Linked DNA regions of Homo sapiens: regions 2, 3, 4, 5 and 6 are each linked to region 1. Evidence: promoter capture Hi-C in 16 types of primary human blood cells and fetal thymus (Javierre and others, 2016). All regions are on one chromosome and are shown on one strand. The core of a region is centred on a gene start or on the middle of the fragment in contact, and the rest is flanking DNA. Distances in the headings are between cores, read along the strand shown. Region 1 holds the start of TRIM45 (tripartite motif containing 45). Region 2 overlaps WDR3 (WD repeat domain 3). Region 3 overlaps GDAP2 (ganglioside induced differentiation associated protein 2). Region 4 overlaps GDAP2 (ganglioside induced differentiation associated protein 2). Region 5 overlaps CD58 (CD58 molecule). Region 6 overlaps IGSF3 (immunoglobulin superfamily member 3).

The links. The method cuts DNA at HindIII sites, captures the fragments that hold promoters and counts their contacts. A CHiCAGO score of 5 or more calls a contact.
Region 2: a contact is called between a fragment that was not itself captured here and the fragment with the promoter of TRIM45 in region 1, in 1 of 17 cell types (total B cells). The highest score is 7.0, in total B cells.
Region 3: a contact is called between a fragment that was not itself captured here and the fragment with the promoter of TRIM45 in region 1, in 1 of 17 cell types (total B cells). The highest score is 6.4, in total B cells.
Region 4: a contact is called between a fragment that was not itself captured here and the fragment with the promoter of TRIM45 in region 1, in 2 of 17 cell types (naive B cells and total B cells). The highest score is 8.4, in naive B cells.
Region 5: a fragment that was not itself captured here is called in contact with the fragment with the promoter of TRIM45 in region 1 in 4 of 17 cell types (total CD4 T cells, fetal thymus, naive CD4 T cells and 1 more); the score reaches 8.5 in total CD4 T cells.
Region 6: a fragment that was not itself captured here is called in contact with the fragment with the promoter of TRIM45 in region 1 in 7 of 17 cell types (activated CD4 T cells, naive CD8 T cells, naive CD4 T cells and 4 more); the score reaches 10.7 in activated CD4 T cells.

The regions. Positions count from the first base shown.
Region 1 is chr1:117,120,166-117,123,165 of GRCh38, reverse strand. TRIM45 (tripartite motif containing 45) reads left to right here and starts at 1,417. Exons shown (of 6, transcript NM_025188.4): 1 at 1,417-2,452. The coding sequence starts at 1,965. RefSeq lists an enhancer at 983-1,152 and a silencer at 1,463-1,652. The HindIII fragment of the contact is 3,223 bases long and covers 172-3,000 here.
Region 2 is chr1:117,932,724-117,935,723 of GRCh38, reverse strand. It overlaps WDR3 (WD repeat domain 3), which reads right to left. Exons shown (of 27, transcript NM_006784.3): 2 at 2,234-2,436; 3 at 1,042-1,251. The coding sequence starts at 2,404. Among named protein-coding and RNA genes, the nearest start is that of WDR3, 4.5 kb to the right of the region's middle. The HindIII fragment of the contact is 2,966 bases long and covers 95-3,000 here.
Region 3 is chr1:117,912,676-117,915,675 of GRCh38, reverse strand. It overlaps GDAP2 (ganglioside induced differentiation associated protein 2), which reads left to right. Exons shown (of 14, transcript NM_017686.4): 4 at 2,993-3,000. Among named protein-coding and RNA genes, the nearest start is that of GDAP2, 15 kb to the left of the region's middle. The HindIII fragment of the contact is 801 bases long and covers 1,010-1,810 here.
Region 4 is chr1:117,890,955-117,893,954 of GRCh38, reverse strand. The region is part of intron 8 of GDAP2 (ganglioside induced differentiation associated protein 2); the gene reads left to right. Among named protein-coding and RNA genes, the nearest start is that of GDAP2, 37 kb to the left of the region's middle. The HindIII fragment of the contact is 1,403 bases long and covers 852-2,254 here.
Region 5 is chr1:116,559,880-116,562,879 of GRCh38, reverse strand. All of the region lies in intron 1 of CD58 (CD58 molecule), which reads left to right. LOC105378925 (a long non-coding RNA gene) reads right to left here. Exons shown (of 3, transcript XR_947739.2): 3 at 1,693-3,000. MIR548AC (microRNA 548ac) reads left to right here and starts at 2,769; the gene lies at 2,769-2,856. RefSeq lists enhancers at 213-362, 2,962-3,000. The HindIII fragment of the contact is 813 bases long and covers 1,068-1,880 here.
Region 6 is chr1:116,580,040-116,583,039 of GRCh38, reverse strand. The region is part of intron 9 of IGSF3 (immunoglobulin superfamily member 3); the gene reads left to right. Among named protein-coding and RNA genes, the nearest start is that of CD58, 11 kb to the right of the region's middle. The HindIII fragment of the contact is 6,350 bases long and covers 1-3,000 here.

The DNA.
Region 1 (3,000 bases), core at 168-2,667:
TTAACATTTGGAAATTACTTGCACATTTTATATAAAGGTGGCATTTGACTCATTGGCGTGTTATATTTTGGAAATGGCCAAACATTTCATTTTTATATTTTATAATGGTTTTTTTTTTTTTTTTCATATTTTGGGGTTAACTTTTTTTCAGATTCCATACTTTTAAAAGCTTAGGCTCCAGACACTATGCCTATAGCATGAAACAGATAATGAAGGAATCAAGTGAAACAGTCGCCCACTGGGTACAAATTAAGTAGGGAAGGTCATGAACAAAGAAAGCAGTGAGGGCCCAGTAGACAAGCTGACGCAACTGGAGATAACAACAGGTGGAGGGGAAAGGAGCAGCTGTTTCCATTTTTGGAATTTTGGAGAATCAGGAGACGCCTGGTAAGGCCAGAGAAGGTGGCCGTGTAATTATAAAGTTAAAGGGGTCGGACGTGTTCATCTTCCCAATTAGTTTTAAGCCCACAAAGGGCTTGTCCCTCATTGCCACCGTCCATTGTCTCACTGTGACCAGGCAGGAGCCCTCCGTGATTGACTGATAAAAACAGCGGGTCCAACTCGCTCAGCTCGTTTCTGTTACACAGGACTGTGGAATCCCGGGTGACATTCAACTCCTTAGGTCATCTGCACTCCCCCCGGACCGGAAAACAAAGCCTTCCCGAGCCCGACAAGGAGGGTGGCGCTCCCTGGCCCGGCCGAAGTAAGCCCTCCATTCGACACCTCGGCTCCACGGTCTCCCGAACCGGTCCCCGTAACGCGAGCCTGAGATGCCCTCACCCCCGAAAAATACCCAAAGTCGGGGAGCCGCGGGAGTGCTTGTACCCAGCACGCTAGGCCTGAGGGACCTGTGAGCTACAGTAAGCGCCTGAGGACAGAGGGGAGCCTCGCAGCCTCAAACCCGCGTGGAGGAGAAACGTCTGGCGCCCCCGAGCGGCCGAGACCTCGGGAGCCCGAAAAACGTCTCCCACTCCCAGCGCAGAGCCAACTGACAGTGCCATCCACCAATGGGAGAACCCAGTCTGCGTTCGTGGGACGAGTCCGAGGGCAGAAAGAAGGCCGTCCCGGCGCCAAATCAGCGTGGCTTTTTAAGAGGTCCTGAGGCCTCTCTGGTCACCACAGAGAGAGGGACAGTCCCTGTGAAACGGTGACGCTGACTACACTATGCCGCTCGCTCCGAGCCTTGGCCTTTTCCTCCCGCCGCACTCTAAGCCCTTCGGCCGCCCCGCCCACGGCCTTGTCAGGTCCCGCCCCCCGCGTGAGTGGACTGGCGAAGATGTGGAATTTCCAAAACTTATTGGATGCTTAGTGGCGTCACTCTGGAGGGCGGCGGGGCCCGGAGCGGCGAGGGCCGCCGCTCTCGGACGGTGATTGGACTCGCCGGAGTAGACCGGGCTGGGATTGGTGTGAGGAGGGGCCAGAGCCCGCGGGCGTCCCGGGCCGAGGCGCGGGAGAGGCGGTGGACACCGAGAAGCCCGCCGGCGGCTTGCAATTCCCTCACCCGGCGCGCGCCTTTCGCAGAGGGAAGGAGCAAGAGGGCCCCTACCTCATCGTGCGCGGGTGGGGTCGGCGCTTGTCGCGTGTGGCGCGCAGTGGGGCGGGCGGCGGGAGGGGGGTGGCAGTGGAGGGAGCGAGAGGTGCAGGGGTGACTTTGTTGGCAGCAGGACTAGCTGGAGAGCTAGACCTGGAAGCGCATCCGGGGAGGACTTGCGGGGCAGAGGAGGGCGTGGGCGTGTCTGGTGTGGGATGCAGTGGAAAGGAGGGGGCCCTCCTGAGTAGATCTGTGGGTGATTCCTTCGAGGACGCCTCGTCTTCCCGTCTGCCCTTTTATTTGTCAGCGAGGGAGTCCCCATGGTCTCTGTTCAAGTTCTGGAGACTTTCTCTTTGGGTGGGCTTAATCACCTGCTACTAAATCGTAGAACTGCCCAGGGCCCTTTCTAATATTGGTCACAAACGTGAGGAGTATGTCAGAAAACAGAAAACCGCTGCTGGGCTTTGTAAGCAAACTCACTAGTGGGACTGCACTTGGGAACTCAGGCAAGACTCACTGCCCCCTGTGCTTGGGGCTTTTCAAAGCCCCCAGGCTCTTGCCTTGTTTGCATACAGTTTGCACCACGTGTCTGGAGCAGCTGGAGCCCTTCTCAGTAGTGGACATCCGAGGGGGAGACTCTGACACAAGCTCTGAGGGGTCAATATTCCAGGAACTCAAGCCACGAAGTCTGCAGTCGCAGATCGGCATCCTTTGTCCTGTATGTGATGCTCAGGTGGACCTGCCCATGGGTGGAGTGAAGGCTTTAACCATAGACCACCTGGCCGTGAATGATGTGATGCTGGAGAGCCTACGTGGGGAAGGCCAGGGCCTGGTGTGTGACCTGTGCAACGACAGGGAAGTAGAGAAGAGGTGTCAGACCTGCAAAGCCAACCTCTGCCACTTCTGCTGCCAGGCTCATAGGTAAAGATGGGACACTCCATCAGGTGTAGCTTAAGAGCAGATTACAAAGAGGTGTCAAGACAAATCCCTCGGTGAGCAGATGAAAAGGAAAGCCTTCTCAAATACCGTGGAAGGTCAAAGAGCAATATAACAATGCAATAGCAAATACTCCAGTACAACAGTTAACCCGGTTAGCCTAATATAGTACCTAATATATAGCCTAATATAGCAATAGCAATAAACCCTTTCAATTTACAAAGTGCAGCTACAGTTTCCTTCAGTCATTCGTGTAGTGAATAATTGTACTGGGTGCTGGAGAAACAGGAGAATGAATATAACAGCATAGATCCTGTTCTTGATCTCCTTCGATCTTGCAACTCTTACAGAAAAGCAGGCCCTGTTTTCGCCCCCATTTATTAATTGGGGAAACAAGCTCAGCAATATTATGTGATTTGCCAAGGTCCTACAGTTGGTAAGTGTGTAACAGAACTGAGTATTAAATCCAGATCATTTTGACTACATTCCAGTAACCCATGCTGTGCTCCTAGAATAGGTGATGATGATTGGCC
Region 2 (3,000 bases), core at 328-2,827, 810 kb before region 1:
CTTACATATTTTCTAGTTTACTTTAAAATGCTATTTTTTAATAGTTAAGTCTTTAATCTTTGTTTCATTTTGGTATATAGCATGAGGTAAAGCTTTAATTTAAAAATTTCGCTCAAATAGCCAATTGTCTAAGGACTGTTTTATAAGTAATCTATCATTTTTCTACTTATTAAAATGTCGTCTTTAAAATATACTAATTAGGAATGTAATCATGGATGTGTTTCTGAGATTTCCATTTGGTTGCAATAATCTATTTTGCATTGGTACTTGCATTGAAGTATCAATATGATACTTCTTAAATTATGGGTTTATATGACATTTTAATATCTAAAACCCCTGTTTTATTATTCTTTTCTTCCCAAATTTTAGTGTTTCCAATTCCTTTGCTTTTCCATATTAGGTCAAGTTCTAAGTAACAACTAAAACCTTTAAGATATCTATTTAAATATATCTGTATCTATATAAACATATGTCTAAACATAGCTTTAGCTATATAAATCAATTAGAAAACACTACCATCTTTTCAATACCTTGTCTTCCCATTCAAGAACATGGATTATATCTCTATAAAAGTCTTCTATTCCATTCTTCAGTAAAGTTTCATGGTATTTTTATGTCTGTTACTTAATCTGTTGTGAATGGAATCTTTTATATTTTCTAACTCATGACTTGTGAGATACAGGAAATTCTACTGACTTTACAGAAGTCAATGGCAAATAATTATTTTGTCTCTTCTTTTCCAGTCTTTGTTTTCTTTCCTTATTTTACTGTTTTGCGTAGCACTTCCACAATAAGAGTTATCATGGCTCTCTTCATCTTATTCCTACACTTAAGAGGCTTTTATCAGAAAATATGACAAAATGAACAAAAGGAAACAAAATGAACCACCCAATTCACACCCATCCTCTTCACTCTATCATTATACTACTTTGTATATTGACAGCCCATTGTTTTACCTGACAATTTTTGTCAACAACTTGCTTCAGCATAAGCCTTACATTCCTTTAATAGATCAAAGCCTGGGCTGATTCAAAGGCTCACCTTGGACCCAGATGCCAGTCTGCCTCCTAGCTGATCATACTTCAAGGTAGTGATAGCTGCTTTGTGACCATTGAAGGTCACATTTCCTTCCCCACTCAGGAGACTGAAGATTCGGATCGACCCATCCTCATACCCAACAGCTAAGTGTAGCCCATCTGGGGAGGGGCATAAGCAAGTAACTTCTTGTTTAAGCCCCTGAAGGATAAGAATCTGAAATCATAAAAATTAAAAACAATGTAGAAGAGTTAAGCATGAACTCAAGGGAAAAGCATAGGAATACTCAGGCACAGTAAAATTAAGAGCACCAATAATTCCAAATTACTCTTATGAATAAAAATGAAACTCCACAATCCATTTCAAGTTTTTTAATATAGAAATTAGTATTTGTACTAGGCAATGAAACATTTAAGAAAAGGCTTAATTATTTTCTCCAAAGCCCTACGTTGTTGTAATACATATAAAAACTCCCTAGGCAATAAAATAAATTTAATCCCTTTAATCTAATTCTTAACCCTAGAACAACACTACGTGATTTTCAATAAAGGTTTATAAATTCCTTTAACTGAGACCCATTTTATAAGAAAATAATCTGTGTGGCAACAGAGTACTGCAGTGGTTTTAACCACAAAGGACTCTTGGTGGCAACAAGAATCAAAGTACTAACCTCTTGGGAATCACAAAATGAATGGACAATATCAAAATGCCTATATTTGGTTTGGCAAAAGTGGTAGGCTTAGGGAATTCAGTCACACAAAGTATCAAAGTCTACTTTAACAACACTTGGGCATTATCCATATTAGAAAAAGATTCTGCCAAAATAGACTAACCTTCCTTTTACATGCCTAATATTTTATAACCAGCTATAAGCATAAGTCGAGCTTGAAAAATAGAATTGGTAGAGAAAAAATACATCAGGAATAAATAATTACTGCAAATAATGACCTGTAAATATTCCAACAAATAGACATCTAAGAAATAAGCTCCTATTTCATTGTGGTTTTCAGAATTCAGTGGCGAAGAACACAAAGGAACTTGATGCTTGGCTAGCTAGACCTAAAGGAAAAAGATTTTTCTTCTAAGGGCACAGACACAAAAAAACTCATGATAAATAAATCAGAGCCCCCCCACTTCTACTACCTCTCCATCCTCAAATACCAATAAATCAGTATCAAACTGGTCATTTTAGGCTCACCTTCTCTCCTTTCCTTAAGTCCCAGATGAAAACGTGTTCACAAGCTGGTACTGCCACATAACGTCCTTTCTCACCACGAAGTGTCACAAAGACAATATTACCTTTTTGGCTGCCGATAACGCCAAAGACCGCACTAGCAACATAGCGTAGGTACTGCTTGGTGAGCCCCATGTTGTGATGTCTGATACCACAGGTGAAGCAATCTGTGCATATAAACAAAGAAAACTCAGCTCCTTGGGTGCCTTGGTTCTACTAGGTTAGTAAACACCAACTGTTTTTTTGTTTTTGAGACAGAGTCTCACTCTGTTGCCCAGGCTGGAGTGCAGTGGTGGGATCCTGGCTCACAGCTGACTCCACCTCCTAGGTTCAAGCGATTCTCCTGCCTCAGCCTCCCGAGTAGCTGGGACTACAGGCATGTGCCACCATACCCGGCTAATTTTTTTTTTTTTTTTTTTTTTAGTAGAGATGGGGTTTCACCATATTGGCCAGGCTCGTCTCGAAAGCCTCACCTCAAGTGATCCATCCGCCACGGCCTCCCAAAGTGCTGGGATTACAGGTGTTAGCCACTGCGCCAGAACAACACCAACTGTTGATCATGTCATTAAAAGCATGTAACTTGTGACTTCTTAATCTTTATTTACTCTAAATGAATCATTGACCTAAAATACCTGGACATCATTTTTTATTCAGTGTTGACTCAATATAATCCCTCATTCCTCAAGTTCCAAATTAGTCACGTTGTCATGCCCACCTCATGCATATCTGAC
Region 3 (3,000 bases), core at 161-2,660, 790 kb before region 1:
AACCTGTATGTGGGTGTGGATGTATACATACATTCTTATATCTTTTGATACCAAAATAATTATGTGTATGCTACTCTCAAAATAAGGTAATCATGTACATATTCTGCAATTTGCCTTCTTCAGCAAATGAATTCCACCTTTTAATTTCTGAAATTACATCTACTACCCAGACCATATTTAAAATTTCCAGCTGATCCAAAAATGTCCTTTGCAGCAGCTATTTTATCCAAACCAGTATCCAATCCAGGACCAGACATTGCATCTTTTTGTTATGTTTATTAATTTGTCTCTGTGTGTGTGGTATTTTGTAATCCAGCACAGTCCCCTGTCTATGACACTGACTTGTTGACTGAACAAGGCCACTTATTTTTCACAGTATTCCTCCTTCTAGATTTGTCTGATTTACTTGAGGTGCCATTTAGTTTGTATTTCCTATAAACTTGACATTATGTCTAATGGAGTCAAGTTTTGCCTAAAATATTTCATAGGTGATGTTGTGTTGTCTGCTTAATGTTGTATCATGTTAGACCTGTTAGTGGACTGTTACTCATATTAAGATGGCTCTCTTAATTGGAGTGAAGATAACAGTTTGACCCTTACATTCCATTTTTTTCTTGCCAAGGTCCCTCCTGGAACCCTCCATCCTCCCTTTCCTCTCTAGACTGTTCTCTGTGCCTGCTGCACAGTTACTGTTCTGGAACTTTTTTTTTTAACATCATCCTGGGAAATCCTTTTTTCTGTTTGGTGGATTGGATCTCTCATTTTTGTGAGTAAATCTACCAGGAGATTTTAAAGAAGAATGCAATAGGGTAAAACTACTGAGATTTTACTTCCACCTTCGTACTTAATTGGTAATTTGCTTAGAAATAGAATTCTAGTTTGGAAATCATTTTCTAGAAATTTGAAGGCACTACTCCTTTGTTTTCTACTTTGATTAGTGCTGTTGAGAAGTCTTGTGCTATTCTTATCCCTGATTGTTTGTATGTTACTGGTTTCTTTCTGGAAAGCTTCTGATCTCATCTTTGTTTCTTAGTGCTCTTAAATTTTACAGGGATTTGCCTTCATATGGTTTGGGTGTTTTATGGGCTCTTTGAATCTAGAAACTGATGTCTTTCCATCCTGGGAAATTTTTTTGTTTTATTTCATTAATAATTTCCTTCCTTCTGTATTCTCTGTTCTCTCTGAAGAAATCCTATTAGATGTTGTATTTTCTTGTTTAATTCTTCAGTTTTCTCATCTGTTATCTCTTATTTTCAATTTATTTTTGTTTTATTTTCTGGATTCCTTCAAGTTTAGTTTTAACCCTTCTATTGAACTTTTCATTTCTGCTGTCATATTTTTCACTTGGCTATAGCAGTTACATAAGTGCCATTTCCTGTTCTCTGAATAGTTTGTTTTTATGACATTCTGATTTTAAGTTTTTTTTCCCCTGTGTTGTCTATTTCTTGAGCATGTGTTTAGTCTCCCCTTTTAGTTTTTGTTAGAGGCTTTTCTCACTTTCTGGTGATCCTTAAGTGTTAGCTGGATTTAAGATGGAAGAACTGAAAAGTTCATGGGAAACTTTGTACACATGGGTGTCTAAGTCATTTCAGGCTGCTATAACAAAGTATCCTAGGCTGAATGGCTTAGGAAGAACAGAAATTTCTGGAGACTGAAATCCAAGATCAGGGTGCCAGCATAGTCAAGTTCTGCTAAGGGCTGTCTTCCTGGCTGCAGACTGCTGAGTTTTCATTGTATTTTCACGTGGCAGAGAGAGGGAGCAGACTCTCTGGAGACTCTTACAAGGATTCAGATCTCATTCATGAAAGCTTTACCCTCATGAGCTTATCTAATTCTAATTACCCCCAAAGACCCTACCTCCTAATACCATCACATTAGGGGGTAGGGTTTAACATATGAATTTTGAGGGAACCGAAGCATTCAGTTCATAACAGTGGGCAACGGTTATTGCCTGGTGGGTCTTGAAGCATATGACAGAATGGGACTCCTGCCTGTTATTTTATTGGGGAACTTCCCCAGTTATCTGTAGGTCCTTTAGGTTTGGGCCTCTCAATTTCTTGGAAAGGAATCCTCCAGGAGTGTAAGCCTAGATGTCTGTTTTGAAAGCCATTTAGGGGCAGAGGGCTAGACCTTTCACTGTTAAGTATAACACTTTAACTAAATCCCCTCTTTTCAGCTGTGCCTGGGGTTCTGGAATCCAGAAACTCTCTAGTTGAGCATCTCCAGAGAATAAACTTCTTCCCTGCTGCTCTGGTGGTAAAAAAAAAAAAAAAATCATCACCTTACTGTGCTGGCTGGGGGAGGGGTTGTTGCAGATTTGACTGTTTTTATACAAACTTTTAACTGGACCTCCTCTTTTTAGCACCACATCCCACTTGACAGCATAGCCTTTACAAGTACTTAGGGCTCCAATTTCTGAGCCTTTTTAGCATTCTCTAGTAATAATAACAATAATTTCTTATGCATGTATGCACTTTGCATATAGTAACTCGTTTAATCCTGTGAAGTAAGTACTACTAGTATCCCTCTTAAATAGGAAATTGGGTTGTAACAAGGCTAAGCCCCTGCCCAGAGTGTCTTGACAGGAACTCAGGATTTGAATCAAAGCAGTCTGTCTTGTATCCAACACTGCTTTTCAGTACAGATCAACTTGCTTCGTATTAGTTATCTCATTTCTGCAAGCAATTAGGTTTGTCTGCTCTGTTGAGTCAGTTACTAGTCAGTTGACATTCTACCTTCCAAAATTTTGATGATGCTTATCTGCTTCATGGTCTTTCTCATTCTCTTTATCTGTCTCTGTGCTTATACCTATTGTATTGCTTCACTGTCATTTTGGGAACAGAAGTAACAGAGATAAATGCTTGTGTTCAGTCTGTATTTTTAACTGAAATTTCTCAAAGTTCTCAATACTTTCTCTGTTTCATGCTTTCATTTGTTTTTGTTTCTGTTTTCCTAACACATCCAAACTTATGTGTGTTTCCATTGTTTTCAGGGTGCCGA
Region 4 (3,000 bases), core at 304-2,803, 770 kb before region 1:
AAAAGTTATGTTCACAAAATAGGTTTTTCATTGTTTTTAAATTAATGAATATTTTTTAAATTTCTCTGTTTTTATTTCTAATGAGAACTGGTAGATATAAATGACACAAACAAAAGATGTTTAAGGTCCTCAATAATTTATAAAAACATAAAAATGTCTGTGTTTTATATAGATATATTTTGGTCCTGAGACCAAAAAGTTTTAGAATTGATGGCTGTTTATTGAGGAGTTTATGATATAACTAAGCTATGTCAACTGTTTGCATGCTCAGCCGTATTTGAGATTGTAGGTTGTAGTTTTTAAAATTTCTTTCTCTTGATATTTCTAAATCGGGCTTTTATTTTCACATATTGAGTCTGGCTTCTGTTGATTATGTTAATTAATTAGGTTGAACAAATGTAAAAGTAAGTAGGTTTTTAGTTAGTAAATATCTTTTCAAAAGCCTTCAATTCTTCCATCAGTAGCGAAACTAAAGGTCACATGGATTGGCAATAGTTTTATGTCACTCCTTTCGTAGCACTGCCTTGTCACCTCAGTATCTCTTCAAAATAATTGTTTTTAACATGAAAAATTAGACGTGCTTTCTAATCCAGGTCTGTCATCCAGTTGTGATTCTGATTTGGGTGTATCATAAGGTAGACATTGGTTTACTTACCAAAATTAGGAAGCAACCTAGATACTCTTTTTCAAAAATACTGCTTTTGAAACTCTTCAAGTTATTTTACAGGAAGATTTCCTTTCCTTTTTTATTAGTATTACTTGACTGGCTTAAGATTCAATTGCCTGTGACTCTTATGTCATTTTTCTCAACAAAATCATTATCTTTTTCATTATTAAATACTTATTAAGCTTTTACTAATGTGCCAAATGTTGTGCTGGATACTACTGGTAATAAAGTGACAAGCAAGACAGATACAGCACCCGCCTGCATGGAGCTTAGGGTCTTGCAGAGGAGAAAAATGTTAAACTAATTAGTATATGAATAATTGTTTAAATTACTGTACAGGGTCAATAAGAGGATACAACAAAGATCTTAACTAAATCTAGGATGGGTCAATTGTATAAGGTCTGGGAAAGCATCTGCTAATTCCAAAGACAGAATTTTCCCTGGGCGATGATTATACACAGATGGGTTAGTTATTAGTCTTTTAAGAGTGATACAGTTTAAATTTTTTTTGTCATTCAGCTGCTGGCTGTACAGGTGGATGGTAATTTATTAACTGGAAGAAACTGGCTTATATTAGCTTTGTGAGAACAGTGTCCAACCTCAGTTGGTTGCAACCCATTGAGAAACTAATTAGTGTTTCTGCATTTAGAGCACTGTAGTGGCTATTTTTTTCTGCCATTTTGACATATTTTGTACGATTATTTATCCATGATTATTATATTTACTCATAAAATAATAGAAGTTTGTTTATTTGGAATAAGAAAGTACTCTATATAGGATATTTAGGAAATATCCTGTAGGAAACCCAGAAACTATTTTGAGTTCATATTTTCCTTTTAGCTTTGTTTTGATTTTTGGATTGGAACAAAAGATTGCATGTCTTCCTTTAAACAAAACAAAACACTATAGCAAAAAGTGAGGTGCTGTTTATAAGAAATGTAATAGAAAACATGAAATATTCTTTGAATAATGAAGTTTAGAAAAAAAGGAGGGTATTGTCTATTGAGTGAGAAGAGTAACAGTCTTTTTGCTTTTACTCTTTCTTCCCAACTGGTGATTTTTTTAAAATAATGACTAAATAATCAGACTTACACAATCTATAGTGGTAATGGCAGAGACTTAATTAGAATAAAGAAGAAACCTGATGAAGATTGCAATCATGAGTTGTTGCATGGTCCTTAGAAACCAGAACAGGACCAGTGTCTCAGCAGTGATTCTAACCTTTTAAAAATCATGAACCCTTTAAGAATCTGATGTAAACTATAAACTTCTCCCCACAAATATGTTCATAGAGATTTTGTCAACCAAAGTCTATCTTTAGATCTCAAGTTGTTAATCATCAATCAAGGTTTAAACATTTTAGAGTTTATACTAATTCTGTGTTCACACTATGGACAAATCAACTTTAGATAGATTAAGGACTTAAATTTTTAAAAATTCTGAAACCTGTGGAAGAAGTTAAGCTAGTATCCTTCAAACCTTAGAGAAAGGGAAGATTTTTTTAAAGACATGAAAAGCATTTACCACCAAAGAAAAAATAGTTTTGACTATATTAAAATTAAGAACTTTTGAAAGTAGAGCCAAGCTTAAACAAAGTAAAAAGCAAGTTACGGAATGGGGGCAGATATTCACAAAACACACAACAAATGATCAGCATCAAGAATGTGTAAAGAACTACAACTTGGTGAGAAACAATCAAATAACCCAATAAAAAATGGAAAAATGATAGGAACAGGCATCTCATAGAATCAAGTCAACATGAGCAGAATCTCAACCTCATTACTGACCAGAGAAATGCTTTACCATTTCTAACCTATCCAACTGGCAAACACTAAAACATCTAATAGTAGCAAGTGTTGGTGAGGACAGGGATTCACAGTCTCATATGCTTCTTATAGAAGTATAATTTGGTGCAATGCTTTGGAAAAGAGGTTTGTCCTTATCTCCTAAAATTAAACATTCCCTGTAACCTAGCACTTTCACTCATTGGTACCTACTCAAGAGCAATCATGCACATGTATACCAGGAGACACGCAAAACAAGTTGATTGTAGCCCTCTTCACAATAGCAAAACCCTGGAAACAGCCCAAGTGCCCATCAGTGAGAGAGTGAATGAAAAAAATCTATAGTTTTTATCTAGTATGAATACATGATATATACAGATTAAGTATGCCATATCCAAAATTCTTGGGACCAGAAGTGTTTCAGATTTCTGATTTGTTTGGATTTTGAAATATTTGTATCGTACTTACCAGTTGAACATCCCAAATCCCAAAAATCCGAAATGTTCCAGTGAGCATTTTTGTTTTAATTGTTATGTTGGCACTCAGAAA
Region 5 (3,000 bases), core at 225-2,724, 560 kb after region 1:
GGGGCCGGGGTGGAATGATATGGTTTGGCTGTGTCCCCACCCAAATCTCACCTTGAATTGTAATAATCCCCGTGTGTCAAGGGCAGGGCCAGGTGGAGATAATTGAATCATGAGGGCAGTTTCCTCTATACTGTTCTTGTGATAGTGAATAAGTCTCACAAGATCTGATGGTTTCATAAAGGGGAGTTCCCCTGCACACGCTCTCTCTTGCCTGCCACCATTAAGACATGACTTTGCTTCTCCTTTGCCTTCTGCCATGATTGTGAGGTTTCCCTGGCCATGTGGAACTGTGAGTCCATTGAGCCTCTTTCCTTGATAAATTACCCAGTCTCATGTATGTCATTATTAGCAGTGCGAGAATGGACTAATACACCCCATCTCTACAAAAAGTTAGCCAGGTGTGGTGGTGCACGCCTGTAGTCCCAGCTACTCAGGAGGCTGAGATGAGCCTGGCAATTGCTTGAGTCTGGGAATTTGAGGCTGCAGTGAGCCATGATGACACAACTGCATTCCAGCCTGGGTAACAGAGCAAAAAAATAAAAAATAAAAAGGTAGGAACTATTTTATTATTAACAGAGTCTGTCTTATTCTGCTGTTGTTGACATTTTACAGATCCTTTATTGCCAACTATCTGCATAACTAGATTTTAAGTTCCTTGTATGCAGAAGTCATGTATTATTTTTTAAAATTTTCCTTATATTGATCTGTTTTTTTTTAATAGTAAAGATTGTTGAATCTGAACATTAGATGACAATGTATTTGTCCAGCATTTCTCCATTTGAAATTATCTCACATTATTATGTGAGACTTGTTCATGTGCTTTGCTGGAGTTGAGACTTAGACAGTCTGTGTTTTTTTATTTAGCAAAGATAATCCAAGTTAAAATAGTGTTGTGTGTTCCTATAGGAAAACTAGGCCCAGTGTTATAACAGAGTGTAAGTAATAATAGCCACTAGGAGGTAAGTACCTGCTCTGTGCCAGGAGCTATGCTTCAGATTTGAGATGTTTTTATTTAATTGTCACACTGATTTTATTACATAGGGAACATTTAATAGGAGAACAAAGCTTAGGTAGGTTCAGTAATGTGTCCAAGTTCACACAGCAAATAAGTGGCAGAGTGAACTTGAACTTTGATTCTCTCTGAATCAGAACCTATTCCTTTATATGCTCTGTTGTATCCCTAGCCTGAGATCCACTAAGCAACTTTTTGAAGATGAGTACTACTGATTTCTTATATCCAACATGTATACATTGTCCAATGAAATTCTGCTAAAACATGGGAAATATAGGTCAGCACAATTACCAGTCATGCAAAATTGTATTTAATATCATAATTTGTAATGGTGAGGGGTGCTTCTTTGGGACATAGAATTTACAATGGCAATTTATTGACATATTTATTATTAACATTATTATATTTACATTCTCTAGGTACCCACATTTCACTCCTAGACACTTTTGCATAATCTCAATAACATCATAACATCTATAAATATTAACACTAATCCTGTAACATCACCTAACTTTTACCCGTATTCAGATTTCCCCACTTGTCACAAGAGTGTCTTTTGTTAAAAAACCCGGATCTAATCAAGTTTCACTCATTGTATTCGTTGCTATGTTTTTTTGTTTTAATTTTGATGGGCATCTTTCAGAAGTTTTAAAATAGTCTTAGAACCTCTTTTTAAGAACCAGATTTGAATAATTTATTTTATTGACCTCCTTGTCACTCTAACATTTCTTTAGTAAATACAGGCTTTGAGGGTAGGTATTGGTTTCTCTGTTTAAAAGTAGAAACTTTGCATAAATCAGCCCTTATATGTGTAAGTTTTCTGCCTTTTGGTTTCTTCTCATGCTGTTTCTGCACAAGTGCCTAAGCTTTTTTGAAGCTTTACTTGAGGGGTGACCAGAAGGTTTTACTTAAGGACACAGACCCTTAAATTCTGCAATGACAAATCTCAACTTCCATCTCAGGGTTGTAAGTGAAACCAGGATGCAGCCGTTTCTCTTTTCTCAGATAAGTTCAGGTTTGAATATAAAGTGTGACTATAAGATACAGAGACTGTCCCTAGAAAAGGAGGGGAAAACATTTTAGCAGTTCCTCTTTGGAGATAACTTTCAGTGCCTGCCCATCAGCCTCCAAGGAAAATGCTTTTTGGTTACTTTATAGGTTCTAGTGAACTTTGCTTACTTTACAATGTTCCCCAAAATGTCTGTTGAGATTAGTGCCTGAATTTCCACTGGGCTGACCAGTCTGTAGTTTCTTGAACATTTTCTTCCTATGCCAGTTAAAAATTAGAAGAAAATTGAAGTTTAACATACACATTCAGAAAAAAATAAAAAATCAGATTAATAAGAAACTAATGAGGCTGTGCCATTGTAAACTACTTGCAATAGAGTTTCCCAACGATGAACTGAGTATCTAGAAAATAACAAGGATTCTCAAGGAATTTTAGTGAAATGATCAGTACTGTATTGAAATACCTTGAATCAGACTTTGGAGAATAGATTTAAAAACACTCACAGCCTTAACCGATCTAGTAAGAACCTTATTCCCTAAAGCATACTGTGGATCTCAGCTGTATCCTATCTAAGGTGAGAACAGTCAAAGACAAATGTGGCCTTTGAGAAAGGTGGGATGTGAGTGTCTTGAAACAACAGGCTAAAGAAGTGCTCTCAAATAGAAGTATAATATGGAACATGTGAAATTAATTTTAATAATATATTTTAGTTAACCTAATATATCCATAATATTTTCATTTCGACATGTATTAGGTTGGTGCAAAAGTTATTGTGGTTTTTGCTATTTTTTTTTAATGGCAAAAACCGGCAATTACTTTTGCACTAACCTAGTAGTTACTACAAAAAAATATTAACAAGAGATTTTATGTTCCACTTTTTAATACCAGGTCTTCAGATTCTGGTGTGTATTTGATACTCAGAACACATCTCCATTTGAACTAACCATATTTCAGGTTCTCACTAGCCACTTGTAGCTGG
Region 6 (3,000 bases), core at 344-2,843, 540 kb after region 1:
CTCCTGCCACACTGTGTGCTTCCAACATGGACCTGAACCGTTAGCCTTGTGTCTGCCTCCTGTTCAACCCTGTGAGCAAGCCTGGATCAATCTGCCTTCCCGTCCCTTTGTCCATCTGTCCCTGATTGCATAAGTTGATTGTACTAATTACAAAACATTGGAAAACAGAAAAGTATAATTTTGAAAAGAAAGGTTAGCCATAATCTCACGGCCTACAAATATCTACTATTAATAATTTGGTGTATATTTTTTGGTCTTTGCCTCATGTCTTCATATTTCCTCTGTCTGTAAACAAACTCAGGATCTTACTGTTTTATGTGATCTTTTTTCCCACTCAACTTTCTTTTATGAGCGTTTTCCCATGTCTGTGAAAGCATTTCATAGCCACCATTTTTACTGGTTTCATAACATTCATTGTGCAGACGTACTTCAAAGATTTTTTTCGGAGGGATACGTTAAACACATGGAAGACTTGAAATAATATAGCTCTAAAAGTATTGTTAGGAAAATAATCACCTTCCACTGCTGAGAGTTGACATTCACAATAATCTGAAATACATGGAATGAAGGGCTCCCATCCTCACTAAGATTGCAGATGAGTCGATTAGTAGTTGTGTTGGGCTCACACAACTGGGGAAGGGAGAAAACCACAATCATCACACACAGGCCAGGAATTGGCGGTCACAGTGAGATCCAGGGGAGCTGTTAGTGTCACGCAGACAGCAGGGGCAGAGGTCGGCATCTTTCCATGGCTTATACTTGGAAAAGAAGAGAGTATTTAAGTCCAAACAGGGAGGAGGGTTGGCATATTCTAGAAGGGGGCAGATTCAGGGAACTAAATTGGTAGAGAAACATGTTAAGGGGAGAGAGATTGTGGGAAGGTGGAAATTAATTTCTGTCGAAAAACTTGTATTGAGTCATTTATGCAGACAAGGCATTTGAAGGGGCCAAGAAAAATGTTAAGCGGTTAGAAGACAAGAAAGCAAAGGGAGATTGAAGAGGGAGGAGGTGTTTCTGAGGAGCTCAACTGATGGTCTCTGGCCATCTTGCCCCTGGCCATGATAAGTTCCACTGCACATCGCCCAGGGCCACCTCCCTTGACACCTTAGCCAGTCACCAGGAGCGTGGGGATACTATGTTAGACTCTGGAGGAGAAAAGCATGGGGTGGGGGGCTCCCCTTGGTCTCTAGTAGGGCTCTCTAATGGCCTTGGAGTTACAACTGAGGAGTTGAGTGAGTTTGAGTTACCTGTGAACTGATTGAATAGTCCCCACCCGGCCATATTCTGTTCTCAAGCATGTTCTTGTCCCTGAGAGAGCTGGGCCTGCCACCTGTAGCTGGTTACTGAGCCCTCCTGTGCCAGCAGTGCACACTGAGATTCCAGATGGGTGCAGGAGGTGGGTGCAGAGGGGCTTGGCAGAGCCCCCACAAGAGCAATGGGAAGCCCAGCCTTGTGTTAACCTGTGAGCGACATGTTCACCTGTGAGCGACACTAAGCCAATTCATTGAAAGCCCAGGACAATACTTGGAAAGTGCTCCTATTTGGTCTTCATCCAAGTAGGATCTGATTTGGTATCTCTACTTCAGTTTACATTACATTGGCACCTTTCATGAACATTTCATAAGCAGAGCCAAAGGGAGGCCTTTTAGGAGTTAGGGAGTGAATTATTTGTTTAGAACATATTACAGTGAGCCAAAAAAAAAAAAAAAAAAAAAAAAAGACAGCAAAACAGATTCAAGTCTGTTGGCATCTGTGAGATGTGACTCACCTGCTTGGGGTCCCTCTCTGTGGTTACTCTGTGTCTCCCGCCTAAGCAGGGAGGACACTTTGCGTACATCCTCCTGAGACATCTGTGCTCACAGGGAAGGGCCCTTTCAGCCTTGTCGTCTGTTATCTGGCTTTAATCCTTGGAGAGATACTGATCTCCTTGGGTTCTCTGTGTTTTAGGCAATAAGCTACATGCACACAGTTTAAATTTAAGTTACTGCATGGGTGTTTTAAATTCCCAGGGCTACCATAACAAATTAGTATAAACTTGATTGTTTAAAACAAAAGAAATTTATTCTCTTACAGTTCTGCAGGCCAGAAGTCCAAAGTCAGGATGTCATCATAGCCATGCTCCCCATGAAGGCTCTAGGGAAGAATGCTTCCTGGCCTTTGCCAGTTCCTTGTGGCCACAGACATTCCCTGGTTGTGGCTGCTTCACTCCTGTTTGGGCCTCCATCATCATATGGCCACTTTCTCTCTGTCTTCTCTCCTGTGCTCATAAGGACACTAGTTATCTTAGTCTGCTCAGTTGCCATAACAAAATACTATAGACTGGGTGGCTTAAACAACATAAATGTATTTTCCTACAGTCCTAGAGGCTGGAAGTCTGAGGTCAGGGCACCAGCATGGCTAAGTTCTGGTAAGAGCTCTTCTGGCCCGCAGACGGCGCCTTCTTGCTGTGTCCTTGAATAGTCTTTCCTCGGTGCATGCACCTGGAGAGAGATCTCTCTTCTTCTTCTTATAAGACACCAATCTTACTGGATTAGGGTCTCACTCAGCCTTATGACCTCATTTAACTTTAATTACCTCCTAAAAGTCCTACCTCCAAATGTAGTCACATCGTGGGTTATGAATTCAGCATATTAATTTGGAGGGGGACCAATTCAGTTCATAGCACCAGCCACTGGATTTAGGGCCCACCCCAATCCAGCAAGACCTCCTCTTTGCTAATTACGTCTGCAAAGTTGCTATTTCCAAATAATCACATTCTGAGGTTCCAGGTGGACATGCATTTTGGAGGGACACTATTCAGCCACTACAAGGGGTTACAGTGAAAATAAACACCTCTTCCCCCCGGGATTCCCATAAGGAACCACACTACCAGCTTCTTATGAATTCTTCCACAGATATTTTATGCAGATATAAACAGATATGTATGTCAAAATAAAATATGTTTTCTGCATACAATGACATGGACAGTAACATTGTTCTGTACTCTTAACAATTTTTCTT